2 separate regions of the Homo sapiens genome follow, and region 1 is linked to region 2. Evidence: promoter capture Hi-C in human tissues and cell types (Jung and others, 2019). All regions are on one chromosome and are shown on one strand. Each heading gives the region's core, a stretch centred on a gene start or on the middle of the fragment in contact. The rest is flanking DNA. Distances are from core to core; before and after follow the strand shown.

Evidence for each region. The method cuts DNA at HindIII sites, captures the fragments that hold promoters and counts their contacts. A contact is called where the count stands out against the background at its distance.
Region 1: a contact is called between a fragment that was not itself captured here and the fragment with the promoter of MGST2 in region 2, in 1 of the 25 tissues and cell types used here (dorsolateral prefrontal cortex).

What each region holds. Positions count from the first base shown.
Region 1 is chr4:140,891,070-140,898,276 of GRCh38, reverse strand. The region is part of intron 6 of RNF150 (ring finger protein 150); the gene reads left to right. Among named protein-coding and RNA genes, the nearest start is that of TBC1D9, 140 kb to the right of the region's middle. The HindIII fragment of the contact is 5,598 bases long and covers 1-4,366 here.
Region 2 is chr4:139,660,654-139,668,251 of GRCh38, reverse strand. MGST2 (microsomal glutathione S-transferase 2) reads right to left here and starts at 2,433. Exons shown (of 5, transcript NM_002413.5): 1 at 2,175-2,433. The coding sequence starts at 2,232. RefSeq lists enhancers at 2,209-2,378, 1,675-2,874. The HindIII fragment of the contact is 4,625 bases long and covers 1,892-6,516 here.

The DNA of each region.
Region 1 (7,207 bases), core at 318-2,817, 1.2 Mb before region 2:
GTGCATCATTTTTTTTGTTAAGTGAACCTAAGGCTCTCTAATATCTGGAAAAATTAAATATGCCCCTACAAGTAAGGCAGTTCCTAATTTTAGGAATAGTATATCCCTAGCATCCAAGCCCTATGATAGAACAACACCTTTGGGGCCAGGTAAAATTGTATGTGTCCATCCATACTGAGTGGTAGTAGGTCTCTTCATCTGGTGGGGCATCAAGGAACATGATCAGATAGTAAAGGCACTGTAAGTAAACTGTAGGTCTTTGTTAGACAGCAGAGAGAGGTATTGAAATTTCCCATCCCTAATTTATGTCCCTGACAATAATGTACGTTCTTGGTAGTAAAGCTAGGTCAAGGCCCAACCCTGCCACCTGCTATCTGTGTAACTTTGGACAAATAGCTCAACCTCTCTGTACCTCTAGTTCTCATCTGTAAAATGGAGGTAATTTAGAGAATACCTACCTCTGGGATTAAATGTAATGCAATAATCCTTAGAAAAGTACCTGGTCCATAATAAGCATTCAAAAAAAATGTTACTGTATAGAAGAGAAGGTGAAGGGGCTCAAACACTAGTAAACTTTGTGCCAAGAATCTTAGAGAGCTTTACATATTTTATTTAACCTTTACAATTATCACTCTTTTATATCTAAGAAACTGAATTAGAGAGCAGTCTAGGAACCATGTCAGAGGTCACACATGGAGTAAATGGCAGGGCTGGAGGGAAAACTCTTGTCACTCTCATCAAAGCCCAGATTCTTTCTCCAGTTTCTCAAACCAGTTTCTAGCTATGGTCTGAACACCCACCTGGGCTGTAGTTGGAGTGCAGATCCATAGGCCCCTCCCCAGATCTACTCAATCACAGTTTCTAGGGGTAGGCAGAGAATTGTCACTTCTATCAGGCTTCCTGAGCAATTCGTTCTAAAGCCAGAGTTTCAAAACGTATGCCCAGCAACCCCAGAGTGCCTGCCCGAGGAAAACAGAACCCAAGACAATGCACACATTCTAAGTGGTATCTTATCCCTGCAGCGTCTTGAAATTTTCTCATATTAATTGTATGCAGGGGTACTGGAGGTAGAACATTCTCTTCAGTCAAACTAACTTTACCTATTTCTTGTTTACTCTGCCTTGAGAATCTCCCCACTGAACACATAAGTGCAATTGTGTGTGCTTGATCCTTGGAGGATCCTTCTTAAGAGACCTGTGCTGTGTGTTGATACATGCAATAAAGATGACCACTGGATCCTTACAGCCCTGGTCCAAATCCCAAAATACAATGATAGAAAATACAAGTAGGTTTTTACTTAGTCATGCCTTACTTGTGATCTTGATGGAGGTTTAATCCTAGCAGCCAACATTGCTATCTGGGGAAGTCTGCTGCCTTTTGATTATTATAATAATGGCTTCTTTGCTCATGAAACATCCCCGACCTGATGTGTGACCTACACACGGTGGTGCAGGCATTCTCTTACATTTTTAGCATAAGCCGTAATTCTAGAATCATCTACTAGAAAAAGGAAGTGCTTCCTTTCTTTTTTAAAGAAAAAAAATTATTTTTTTTTGTTTGTTTGTTTGTTTTTTTGTTTTTTTTTTTTTATTATACTCTAAGTTTTAGGGTACATGTGCACATTGTGCAGGTTAGTTACATATGTATACATGTGCCATGCTGGTGCGCTGCACCCACTAATGTGTCATCTAGCATTAGGTATATCTCCCAATGCTATCCCTCCCCCCTCCCCCGACCCCACCACAGTCCCCAGAGTGTGATATTCCCCTTCCTGTGTCCATGTGATCTCATTGTTCAATTCCCACCTATGAGTGAGAATATGCGGTGTTTGGTTTTTTGTTCTTGCGATAGTTTACTGAGAATGATGGTTTCCAATTTCATCCATGTCCCTACAAAGGATATGAACTCATCATTTTTTATGGCTGCATAGTATTCCATGGTGTATATGTGCCACATTTTCTTAATCCAGTCTATCATTGTTGGACATTTGGGTTGGTTCCAAGTCTTTGCTATTGTGAATAGTGCCGCAATAAACATACGTGTGCATGTGTCTTTATAGCAGCATGATTTATAGTCCTTTGGGTATATACCCAGTAATGGGATGGCTGGGTCAAATGGTATTTCTAGTTCTAGATCCCTGAGGAATCGCCACACTGACTTCCACAATGGTTGAACTAGTTTACAGTCCCACCAACAGTGTAAAAGTGTTCCTGTTTCTCCACATCCTCTCCAGCACCTGTTGTTTCCTGACTTTTTAATGATTGCCATTCTAACTGGTGTGAGATGATATCTCATAGTGGTTTTGATTTGCATTTCTCTGATGGCCAGTGATGATGAGCATTTCTTCATGTGTTTTTTGGCTGCATAAATGTCTTCTTTTGAGAAGTGTCTGTTCATGTCCTTCGCAGAAAAAAAATTCTTTAAAAATCTTAGATACTGAAATAAGTCCTTGAATGAGCAGATCAAAAGATAAGTTTTGAAAGAATTACCATTGGTTTTCTCAGATGCATAATTTTACTGAGGGAAGAATTCTTTGGTGTCATAAAATTAACTACCATAAGAAAAAGGATAAGACAACAAGGCTACATTTCATAGTTTCTTTGGGTGCATTGCAGCTAAGATCTGCAACACAGAACTAAGAGTTGGTAACTGCTAAGCAGAATGATCTGCCACCAAAGTTAAGAGTATAGACAATGTGTTCTGGGAGCTGATAATTGGCAGGAGGTAATAATGGTAGGAACTCTATTTTTCTTTGTTTTTATTTTCCTATCTTGATGAACAATTACAGTTATGGAACATATGGAACCATAGCTTTGCTCTTATAATGTATATAGGCTAATTTCCTACAGAGACATATGTTTTTTGCTTCCAAGGCATATTGTGGGGACTTTGACTTACATTGATGCATAGCTATGCTTATAATATGCCCATTTTCTACTTCCAGGGCTGTCTCAGTGCCTAAATATTCAGCTTCCCCTTAGAGAAACCCTGTCTCTAAAAATATAACCATAAAATAGAAAAATATACTCACTTATGATGCTGGAATTCCCATCAAAGCTTTGAAGGAAAAATGTTCAAACAGTCTCAGAAATCCCAATTAGCCCTCATGCTACCTGTGCCCCCTGACCCTCTCCAGGAGATTTTCTCTTAAAGGGAGTGGGAGAAAACCAAAGGGGACCTGGGACTTAGTCTCTAGTGGGTTAATGAACAGGATCCACAAAGGTAATGTTCTCAAGGACCCTCACTTCTTTTTGCCAGGCTTGCAGATTCCTGGGGCAAGAAAGAGTCTGCTCTCCCTGAGAGTTCCCTGAATTGAAGATGCTCCCTTGGTATCCATGGAGACTCAGGCAGCTCAGCCCCAGATGAGCAAGTTATTTGTGACTTCGAGATTTATGGATTTGTTCACTCTGCACCATACTTACATTATTGACAAGGCATCTACGTTACAGGAAACTGCCGACATAGTCTCAGGCAGCTTTCTTCATGGCAAAATAATATAAAATATTTGCAGGCCGGACAAAAATAAACATTGAAGATCTATTCAGCAGTACCTACTATTTAGGACATGGGCCATGTTTGTGGCTGCAGATTTTTTAAGAATACAAGTTCAAAATGTGCATTGATTGTTTGCTACTGGGAAGCACTGGCAAAATGTTAAACAAAGCATGCACCAATCAAAGGAGGGGACCCAGGATCTCTATCATGGACAAATATTTAGGGTTATTTGTCTTAAATATTTATGGAGTTTAAAAAGTGGGGGATGGGGCTCACTATAAACATCAGTAATCATCCCAAAAAGCAGCAGCATGATCCTTTAAAAAGAAAGAAAAATTCAGAAACTACGTGAGCCACATGTTAAAATGACTTTCTGTTGTGGAAAGGTCACAGAATATATTAACAATAACTAGGGAGAGAAAACATCATAAAACACTCTGAAGATACCTAGAAGACCTCATCAGAAGTTAATCTGGAAGTCTTTCATTAATTAAACACAGCTATTTTACCAAAAGATGTTGGTGATTTAGCATAAGATTTATTAATGCCTATTTTGAGCTAGGATGACATTGCCCCTCCTCTGAAGGAATTTAGGTTTGAACAGATGTAAAACAGATGTGTACAAAATAGCAGTTACTTTGCCAAGTGCTGTTTCTTAAGAACAGATCTCATTTGCCAGATCTACTAAAAGCTTTGTCTACATAAGGGATTTGCATAGCTTTCCTGAGTTTAGAAAGAGACAGAGAAAGGAACCATCACTCTTCAGCTTGTGGAGGAAATACTAAAACCTTAACCCCCATGTTAAATTCCAGGAACTCCCTATGGACTTGTTTAGGGAATTTGGCCTTTTGTACATATATTGGAGAATATTAGGATGAAATGCCTCTGTCTTAGATTTTGCATTCCTAATACTAGAAAATTGCTAGTTTTTCAGTTTTAAAATTTTAAGAATTTTCCTAATTCTGTGTTTATTGTGTACATGTTTAGTCACTCATGATAATCCAACTCTAAACGATACCTTTTCAGTTCTTCTCAATTCTTCATTTTTAAGCTTCACAAGCCCCCGCCAGAACAACTGGCTTATTCACACCCCCACCACTGCCAGCTTCAGGAACCATTCCACACAGGTGGCCCCTCTTCTTAGGGAGGTGCTGAGCATGGTTCTAAAAGAGAAACAAGGAAACAGAAAATGATCTTAAAAGGTACCTAATAAGGTGGAGTTGGAAAGAGCAGGAATGAGATTCCTGTCCCATAATAAATGAAACACTTGAGCTCGCTGCTCAGTCTAGGTCTTGTTTCTCTTAGCCTACTCTGTGGTTTTGCCTTGATTCCTTAGCATGATGTATTCCACATAGCATTGATATCAAAAGAGCATAAGTCCCCTTCCCCAGTGTTTTATCCTTTCAAAAAATCAACATGATATCTTCAGATTTTCCCATTTATTTATTCAGTACATTCAAGTGATAACTTTTGCATTTCTTTTATTTCTATAGCATTAGAGATGCAGTCTTGCAAAATAAGCCCCTGACCCCTGAGAAATTACAGTCTGCTCTAGTTAGGAGAAAAAACATCCATGGGTGGAATATTTAAATAATGAAATAAGGCAGTGGTGTTAATCACATGCCTGGAATATTGTGAATAAAAGTGTTCTTTGGAGAAAGGCCGGGGGGTGGTCATGGTGGCAACACTACCCTCAGACCTTTTTTTTTCTTTTAAGAGATGGATCTCACTCCATCTCCCAGGCTGGATTGCAATGGTGCAATCATGGCTCACTGCAGCCTCAATCTTTTGGCTCAAGCAATCCTCTTACCTCAAGCTCCTGAGTAGCTGGGACTACAGGTACACACCACCACACTCAGCTAATCTTTTAGCTTATTTTTTTTTTAAGAGATGGGGTCTCACTATGTTGCCCAGGCTGGTCCCAAACTCCTGGCCTCAAGCGATCCTCCTGCTTGGGCCTCCCAAGTGCTGGGATTACAGGCATGAGCCACACTACACCAGCCTCCACAGACCTTTTACTCTAGGGTACAGTTTGGCTACATCCCTCCCCAGGGGGAAGGAACTTGTGAGGCCAAGAAGTCGCCGACATCCCTCCCCAGGGGGAAGGAGCCTGCGAAGCCAAGAAGTCACCCAGACTCCCTAACCCACTTTCTGGAGACAGAGTTAGCAGGATACAAAATTGCCATTGTATGGAAGTCCTGAATTGGCCACACCTTTGCCTTTGGGTTTTTAACAAAAGTCTTTTTCAAACCCAATATTTGTGTACAGTTCAAATGTAATAAAGAGATCAGCTTAAACTCGTGGTTTTTTAAGTTAATAAATACATGAAAAGCAGCCAGCACAGGCTGGTGAAGTATAGGTCCTTCCCCTCCCTTGTTGTTGCATCACTACAAGCGGAGGCATTTGGCAGAATTAATTTTAGCCATCAGATGCTTGTTTTGTTTTAGCTTTTCAGGAAACATAGATCAGATTAGCAAAAGAACTATAGATCAAATTAGTTAAGTAAATGAGGGGGTTCAACAACTTCAACAGATTCATTACACTATTAGTCATCTGCCCTCGTACATTGCTATATAGGTGTCCCTCCATCCAACTGCATATCAAAAATATTCAGGACAAAAAAATCTCAATCCAACAGTAGAAAATAGTACCAATAAAATCTACAGTACAATAACTATTTAGGTAGCATTTACATTATATTAGGTGCTATAAGTAATCTAGAGATGATTTAAAGCAGCAGTTCCCAACCTTTTTGGCACCAGGAACCAGTTGCTTGGAAGAGAATTTTTCCACAAGAGAGGTGGTTGGGGGGACGGTGGTGCTTTCGGGATGAAACTGTTCCACCTCAGATCATCAGGCATTAGTTAGATTCTCACAAGGAATGCACAGCCTAGATCCCTCATATGCACAGTTCACAATAGGGTTCCTGCTCCTATGAGAATCAAATGCTCTGCTGACAGGAGGCGGAGTTCAGGCAGTAATGCTCACTCACCCTCCACCCACCTCCTGCTGTGTGGCCCAGATCCTAACAGACCATGGACTGGTACCAGTCGGTGGCCCAGGTTTAAAATATACAAAAGGATGTGCATAGATTATATGCAGATTCTACACCATTTTATATAAGGAACTTGGGCATCCTCAGATTTTGATAGGGGGCAGTGTCCTGGTACCAATCCCCCACGAATACTGGATACGGAAGGACAACTGTGCTAAATGCTAAAGGAGGGGGAGGAATGGAGGAGTTTGGAAAGAACTGTCTCAGCTGGGCTTGTTGCAGTTATTATTGTCAATTTTCTCATCACCACTATCATTTTCCACCACTGTCCAGCCTTCCCAGTTCCTCCCACAGTGGTCCTTGGGGTGCTCTGTGGACCTGTATGACTTCATGGAGCACCGTGAAACCTACTGGAGCAAGAACAGAAGAGCTAGGTTCAAGTCCTAGTTCTGCCACTTACTACTGGCTCTTTCTGAGACTTTGAGAGAACTATAGCCTTTCTGAAAGTTAGGTAGCCTGCTGTAAAATGGGCTCAAATGTGTTCAAGAACATTGGAAACTAAATCAAATATAATGGATGGTGATGATGGTGATAAAATTATAATAGCCACTGTTATAAAAAAAAGTGTGTTAGAACAATTCTTGGCCAAATCTATCATTTTCTACCAGTGCTATTCCTACTCACACATCCCACCTTCATTGCCACCTGCCATGAGCA
Region 2 (7,598 bases), core at 1,184-3,683:
GCTTCATTTGCATAGTAAGAACCTTGGCCTCCACAACCCCTTATCTTAACCCAGGCACTCCCTTCTATGGATTTGAGGTCTGTAGATAAACTCTTTTAATCAATTGCCAATCAGAAAATCTTTAAATCCACCTATGACCTGGAAGCCCATGCCCCACTTCCAGTTGTCCCGCCTTTTGGGACCAAACTAATGTACATCTTACATGAATTGGTTGATGTCTTATGTCTCCCTAAAATGTATAAAACCAATCTGTAGCCAGACCCCTTTGGGCAGATGTTCTTAGAATCTCCTTGGGCTGTGTCACCGGCCACTCGTCCCTCATGTTTGGCTCAGAATACAGCTTTTCAATTATTTTACAAAGTTCAACTCTTCATCAACATCTTTTTTTTTTCTTTGAGATGGAGTCTCGCTCTGTTGCCAGGCTGGAGTGTAGTGCTGTGATCTCAGTCCACTGCAACCTCCCCCTCCCAGGTTCAAGCGATTCTCCTGCCTCAGCCTCCCTAGTAGCTGGGACTACAGGAGCGTGCCACCATGTCCAGCAAATTTGTGTATTTTAAGTAGAGACGGAGTTTCACCATGTTGGCCAGGATGGTCTCGATCTCTTGACCTCGTGATCCACCTGCCTTGGCCTCCCAAAGTACTCGGATTACAGGGGTGAGCCACCGTGCCCGGCCCTAACACCTTGTCATTAAACATTCCCTGTCCACCATTAATCATCATTCACCCAGTCTCCTCTCCTCTCTCCCCACCCCTACCCCCACTCCATCCAGCCCCCTAACATTCTGGCCCCAGTTCACACAGCCCCCTGCACAAGCAGCAAACAGGGAGGATGAGCACCTCTGTCAGCTTTGGGACATCTGTGGACCTGCAGGCCTAGGATAAAGGCGCATGCAGGTTTGGTAGCACCTGTGAGTCAGGATGCTACCAACAGTGAGCCTTAGACCTGCTAAATTAGGTTTAGCCTAAAGCTGCCTTCTGACATATTTTAAGTTCAGCCTAAAGGTTTCTCCGTACATCGTGAACTATATGCTTCCGTTTTCTGGGAGTCGCTTTCCTTTTTCTGTCCATAAATCTTCTTCTACCACGTGGCAGCCCCAGAGTCTCTCTGAACCTATTCCGGTTCCCCATGCCCAACTGTGAATCGTTCTTTGCTCAATTAAACTCAGTTAAATGTAATTTGTCTAGGGTTTTCCTTTTAACAGATCTAAGTGCTTCTTTAATTAGAAACAAATATCCTGCTCTTCTCCACAACAGATTGTGTGAATCAAACCACAAAACGTGAGTCTGAAGGTTCAAGATCTTCATACAATCTCAAAACAGACTGGCTAGGCAAGACATTGAGCATGCACGGAGGCCTGGACTGGATCCTCAGCTGTGAGGCCTTCCTGCTTCTGGCTGTTTGTGTAACCTGAGCAGTCTACGGCTTGGCCCTATTTCCTGGTACAGGCATACTTGGAAATATAAAGAAATATGCATGCTTGGTAAGAAGTCTTGCACTCTTGCACTCGGACCCCTTTCCCCAGCTGACATTGTAGGTAAGATAATATGAATTGAGCAAATGTGACTCCCATGGAGTAAAAGCCCTCTATTTAACCAGGCAGTCGAGATATTGAATAATCCTAGTGGGAAGCTGTTTTAAAATTTAGAGCTAATTACTTAATCTAAAGCTAATATTTCTGAAGGAAGTTTTTTTCAATCTGATAATCATACCACCATAGGCAGTTTATTTAAGAAAACACATTAATTAAAACATCAACGTTCAAGAAATCACAACCAGGTTTAGAAGCAGGCACGTTTCCTTTGGAACACTTGTAATTAATATTCACACCACTTCCTGCAGGTTAGCAGGCTACTAACGCTCGTTTGAACGGGCTGTGGGTCGTAATCACAGATGATGCAGAATCGCTGAGCTCTGAGGCCCCACAGCGTTCCAGTTGGGAGAACTAATCTCTGGAATGTTCTCAGTCTCTGCTTGCCCCTGGGAAGGAGGGTAGCAGGCGGCATGGGTGACCCTGAGGCGACTGTGCTCTGAGGACCCAGAGCTACCTGCAAGGGCAAGTAGGAAACAAAACACCGGACCCATCTCCCTCCCTCCCTCTCTCTCCCGCAAGCCTTGTCACACACACACACACACGCACACACGCGCACACACACGAACTTCCCATGCCTCTTACTTTGCTGACAGGCCGAGAGAATAGAGACAGCAGCCAGCAGGATCGAGTTCCCGGCCATCTTTCTCACGGAACTATTTGTAGAGCGCACGGGAAGATAAATGGCGCTTCTTGACTTTGAATGCTGACCTTCCTTATCGGGTAAACAAAGTTGGGGACCGGGTGGGGGGAAAAGGCTGATTCAAGCGGCTGAATGACCTTTGCTCTGGAACAGAAGTCAGGAAGGCAGGCAGGTCTGGGGCTGCCGGTCACAGATCTTTATGGGGCTGGGAGTTGCTTCCGGCGTTTGTTTTAAGCCTCTCCCACGGCCAGCGGGCAGGGCTGTAGCTCACTGTGGGACCAGCCCTCCAGCCGCAGTGCCAGTTACACTATCTTCTCTGCCAATGCACAGACTCTCTGGATCCCTTTCATCCCCACGCCCTTCCCTCCTAGGGCCTTGCTGAGACCTTTCTCACCTCCTGTGGAAAAAGTGAGAAGGAACTACTTACTTAATCCTGTTGACATTTTAAATGCTAATTTAAGCCAGTTCTAATGTATTCACGCTCTGAATGGCCGATTTAGGATTTGAACCCAGTCTAGCAGATTACAACTGTGCCCTATCCCCTGCACCAGGCTGCCTCTCACTGTCACCTAGAGACTCTGATAATAATCATACTTTTTTTTTTTAAGACAGGGTCTTGATCTGTCACCCAGGCTGGAGTGTGTGGTGGCACGATCATAGCTCACTGCAGCCTCCAACTCTTGGGCTTAAGTAATCCTCCTGCCTCAGCCTCCCAAGTAGCTAGAACTACAGCCACAAGTCACTGTGCCCAGCCATTTTTAAAAAAATAAACCGGCCGGGCGCGATGGCTCACACTTGTAATCCCAGCACTTTAAGAGGCCAAGGAGGGTGAATCACGAGGTCAGGAGATCAAGACTATCCTGGCTAACACAGTAAAACCCCTTCTCTACTAAAAATACAAAAAATCAGCTGGGCATGGTGGCACGAACCTGTAGTCCCAGCTACGCAGGAGGCTGAGGCAGGAGAATCTGCTCTTTAGAGATGCAGATTCTGGCCTGGAAGGATGGCTCATGCCTGTAATCCCAACAGTTTGGGAGGCTGAAATGGGCAGATGGTTTGAGCTCAGGAGTTCGAGACCAGCCTGGGTAACATGGCAAAACCCCATCTCTTAAAGAAATACAAAAATTAGCAGGGCATGGTGGCACGTGCCTGTAGTCCCAGCTACTTAGGGGGCTGAGGCAAGGGGATTGCTTGAACCCAGGAGCCTGAGACTGCAGTGAGCCAAGGTCGTTCCACTGCACTTCAGCCTGGGTGACAAAGTGAGACCCTGTCTCAAACAAATAATAAAAATAAAGATGCAGCTTCCCAAAAACCAGAGCTGGGGGCCTTTCCTCACCCCATCCTACAGCACCATTAGAGGGTATATCTTGGCTCAAGCTGCTATAACAAAGATACCATAGACTGGGTGGCTTACAATAGCAATTTATTCGTCACAGTCCTGAAGGCTGGGAAGTCCAAGATGACAGTGCTGGCCAATCAGTTCCTGGTGAGGGCCCTCTTCCTGGTTTGCAGAAGGACACCTTCATGTTGGAGACAGAGAAAGAGTAAGCTTCCTGGTCACTTCTTATAAGGGCACAGATCCCATTATGGGGGCCTATGCTCATAACCTCACCTGTAGCTAATTATCTGCCAAATGCCTGATAACATCACGTTGGGGGTTAGGGTCTCAACATATGAATTGCAGAGGGGACACAAACATTTAGTCCCTAGCAGGGAGCTCCCAGTGTCTTCTGGGGAGGGCAGTTGCCTCAGCCTCACACAGACCCTACAATTTAATAACACAACCTTGGGCCTCTCTGAGCCTCCATTTAATAAGATAGGGCTAATAAGAGCTGAAGAGAAGTTTAAATGACATAATCCTATTCTAAGGATTGAATTAGTTAATACTTATAGAGCACTTAAAACAGCACCTGGCATATACAAATGTGTTCTGTGTGTCTGCAAAATAAACACATAAAGTATCTAGACAAGTACTTAGCATATAATGTACCTAATGTTAAAAAATACTTTCAGAGGCAAAAATCATGCCTTTCATACAACATAAAATGAAAACATATCAAAATTTTTATGTAACTCATTCATGAGGGAACCAGTAAGATGTTATAACCAGTTCAAAGTAGAATTCATGGAACTACACATATACAGGAAAGAAGGAATAACAAAATTAATTTATAAATAGTTGCAAGCCAGGTCTGCTCAAAGTTTCTGTTGGTCTTCAGGCTTCCTTGGCTGTTTGCTCTTGAAATCATTGACAACTAAGATTAGATAAGAAAGTAGAGCCAAGAAGCTGGGGCAGCACCAAAACATTCTTGTATACTCAGTTTAATAGTTTTGGGCTTCAGTACATGGCAGAGATTCTAAACTGCAAACTAGCTGCCCTGAACCCATATCACCATCTACTATAATAACCTCCCAAATGACAGATCTCGAAGGAGAGGTCTACATTAGGCCTGGGGACAGGCAGAGGCTCTCAAAGTCAGAGAACGGCTCGGGAAGAGAGGAACAACAGCAGGAGGAGCTGAGCAGAGAATTGTGGCCCTGGCTGATGACTGTAACTTTTGGGTGTTGGTAACTCTTATTTTGAGAAACTCTTGGGTACACCTGTACTAGTCAACTGGTTTAAAATCTACAACTTCCGGCCGGGCGTGGTGGCTCACGCCTGTAATCCCACACTTTGGGAGGCCGAGGTGGGCGAATCACCCGAGGTTGGGAGTTCCAGACCATCCTGGCTAACACGGTGAAACCCCGTCTCTACTAAAAATACAAAAAAATTAGCCGGGCGTGTTGGCGGGCGCCTGTAGTCCCAGCTACTCGGGAGGCTGAGGCAGGAGAATGGCGTGAACCTCGAAAGCGGAGCTTGCAGTGAGCTGAGATCGTGCCACTGCACTCCAGCCTGGGTGACAGAGCGAGACTTCGTCTCAAAAAAAAAAAAAAAATGAAACTTCCCAGCTTCTGGACAAATCCTGAGGTTCCCTACTGACTTCTCCCAGCCAATCTTAAGTCAGTCCCCCAAATCCAGATTCTAAGAGATGGTTGACACAAAGTAAAAAAATAAAAAATCAATTAATCAATAAAATCTCAAGTGCTTCAAAACCCCACGTGTCTATTTAAAAAGATCTTCATTGTCGGTATATGTAGTTATTGCCTCTAGGAAAGTATAAAAGAATAGAGCATTGTATAATGAAATGTTTATCACCTTCTGCAGTGATAAAATTTCCAGGTGACCCACAGCTGAAATACTGCCATAGCATTAACAAAAACTCACAAAAATTAGAGTTTCTCTGTACGTTTTCCCTGGATTGGTTGAAGAGGAATGGCATTTTCCCTGAATGTTGTTCCCATAGATCCTTCTAGTATGTTCCATTTATTACATTTTTCTATGAAAAGGAAAATAAGAGGACAAACAGCATACTGGTAATTGCTATGGTCTGAATGTTTGTCCCCTCCAAAACTCATGTTAAAATTTAACTTCCATTATAATGGTATTAAGAGGTAGGACAATAAGGGGTGATTAGGCCATGAGAGCTCTGCTCCCATGAATGGATTAATGTTGTTATAGGAGTGGATTGTTATAAATGTGAGCTTGGCCCTCTCTTGCCCCCCCGCTTTGGGATGACATAGCACAAAGGTCCTTACCAGATGCCAGCACCTTGATATTAAACCTCCTAACCTCCAGAACTGTGAGAAATAAATTTCTTTTCTTTATAAATTACCCAGTGTGTGGTATTCTGTTATAGCAACAAAATGGAATAAGACAGTAATGATAGTAAAATGTTTTTAAAATATTTTTATTATCTATGTAAACTCAAAAGAAACCTAAAAGACTTTCTGAGGACTTTGGTTACTACTGAATCACTGTTACCAAAACTATACTCTAGGTAAGGTGAAACAGAGAGGCCAAGATTTGATCACATAAAAACAAACCTGAACCATGTAAAAGAACTGCTTTCATGAAATGTGAACTCTAAATGTAACTCTTTCAGTATAATTTTGGTAATAGATGAAAAGAAATGATATATTAAACTATAGAAATGTTTTTCCTCAGCCGGGCATGGTGGCTCACACTTGTAATCCCAGAACTTTGGGAGGCCAAGGTGGGTGGATCACCTGAGGTCAGGAGTTCAAGACCAGCCTAGCCAACATGGTGAAACCCCATCTCTACTAAAAATACAAAAATTAGCCAGGCATGATGGTGCACATCTGTAATCCCAGCTACTGGGGAGGCTGAGACATGAGAATCACTTGAACCCAAGAGGTGGAAGTTGCAGTGAGCCGAGAATGCGCTACAACACTCCAGCCTGGGTGACAGAGCTTGCTCTGCCAAGCTCTGTCTCCATCTCAAAAAAAAAAAAAAAAAAAAAAAAAGGTTTTTCCTCAAACCAATTGCAACCCCCGCAAATTATTCCCTGGTCTCACCCTCTCTGTTCACTTGCTACCCTTCCAAAATTGACAGCACATCATCCAGGTTTCTGCTGAGCACTACAGCAGGGCTGTCCTCACTGCCATCAGGCCAGGTAGCAGAAAGAGACAGAAAATACACCTCTTTCCCAGGAACTATCAGAGTGATCATGATTATCAATGACCACATAACTCTCCATGTACCCAGAGTTCATTACATTATCTTGCTAGAAGTCCTGACTAGTTGAAGAATCTTGTAACTACACAGCAGTTTTTCTGTGTTTTGTTTTGTTTTGAGACAGGGTCTTACTCTATCACCCTGGCTGGAGTGCAGTGACATGATCATGGCTCACTGCAGCCTCAACTTCCAGGGTTCAAGCAACCCTCCCACCTCAGTCTCCTGAGTAGCTGGGTTTAATAGTGGCTTTAACACAGTAAGTTTTTAAGCAAAGCTCAGATAAACACAATTTGAAATTATGCTCCATTTTGCTACATGTTGCAAAAATTTAGGAAATTTTAGTCATCCTACGGAATATTTTCTCCCATTTCAGAAACTGCAGCATTTTGCTTTGTAGCCCTGAGTGTGAAGAAATGAGCTAAAGAAGGCAAAGGCATTTTATTCCCATTGAGGAGACTTTGCCCTGGACCAGACAGGGCAAAGGGTTACAGTTGAATGCCAGCTACCTTCCAGCAGAAACTGCCCACTACCCAGCACCAGTAATGACATATCAAGGCTCAAAGATAAAGACAGAAAAAGAGAAGAAAGGCAAGGAAAATAAAGATCAGTTACCAATGTAGTGTAGAAAAAAAGAGTACAAGGTTTAAGCTCCTATCTCTGTGTCACGGTGGAAAGTTGCTAAACTTCCTGGACATGTGTTTTCAAAGGGAAATAATAATACTGACCTTGCAGGGTTCCTCTGATGAATAAAGGAAGTCATGTGAAGGAAGCAAATAGCACAGAACCCGGC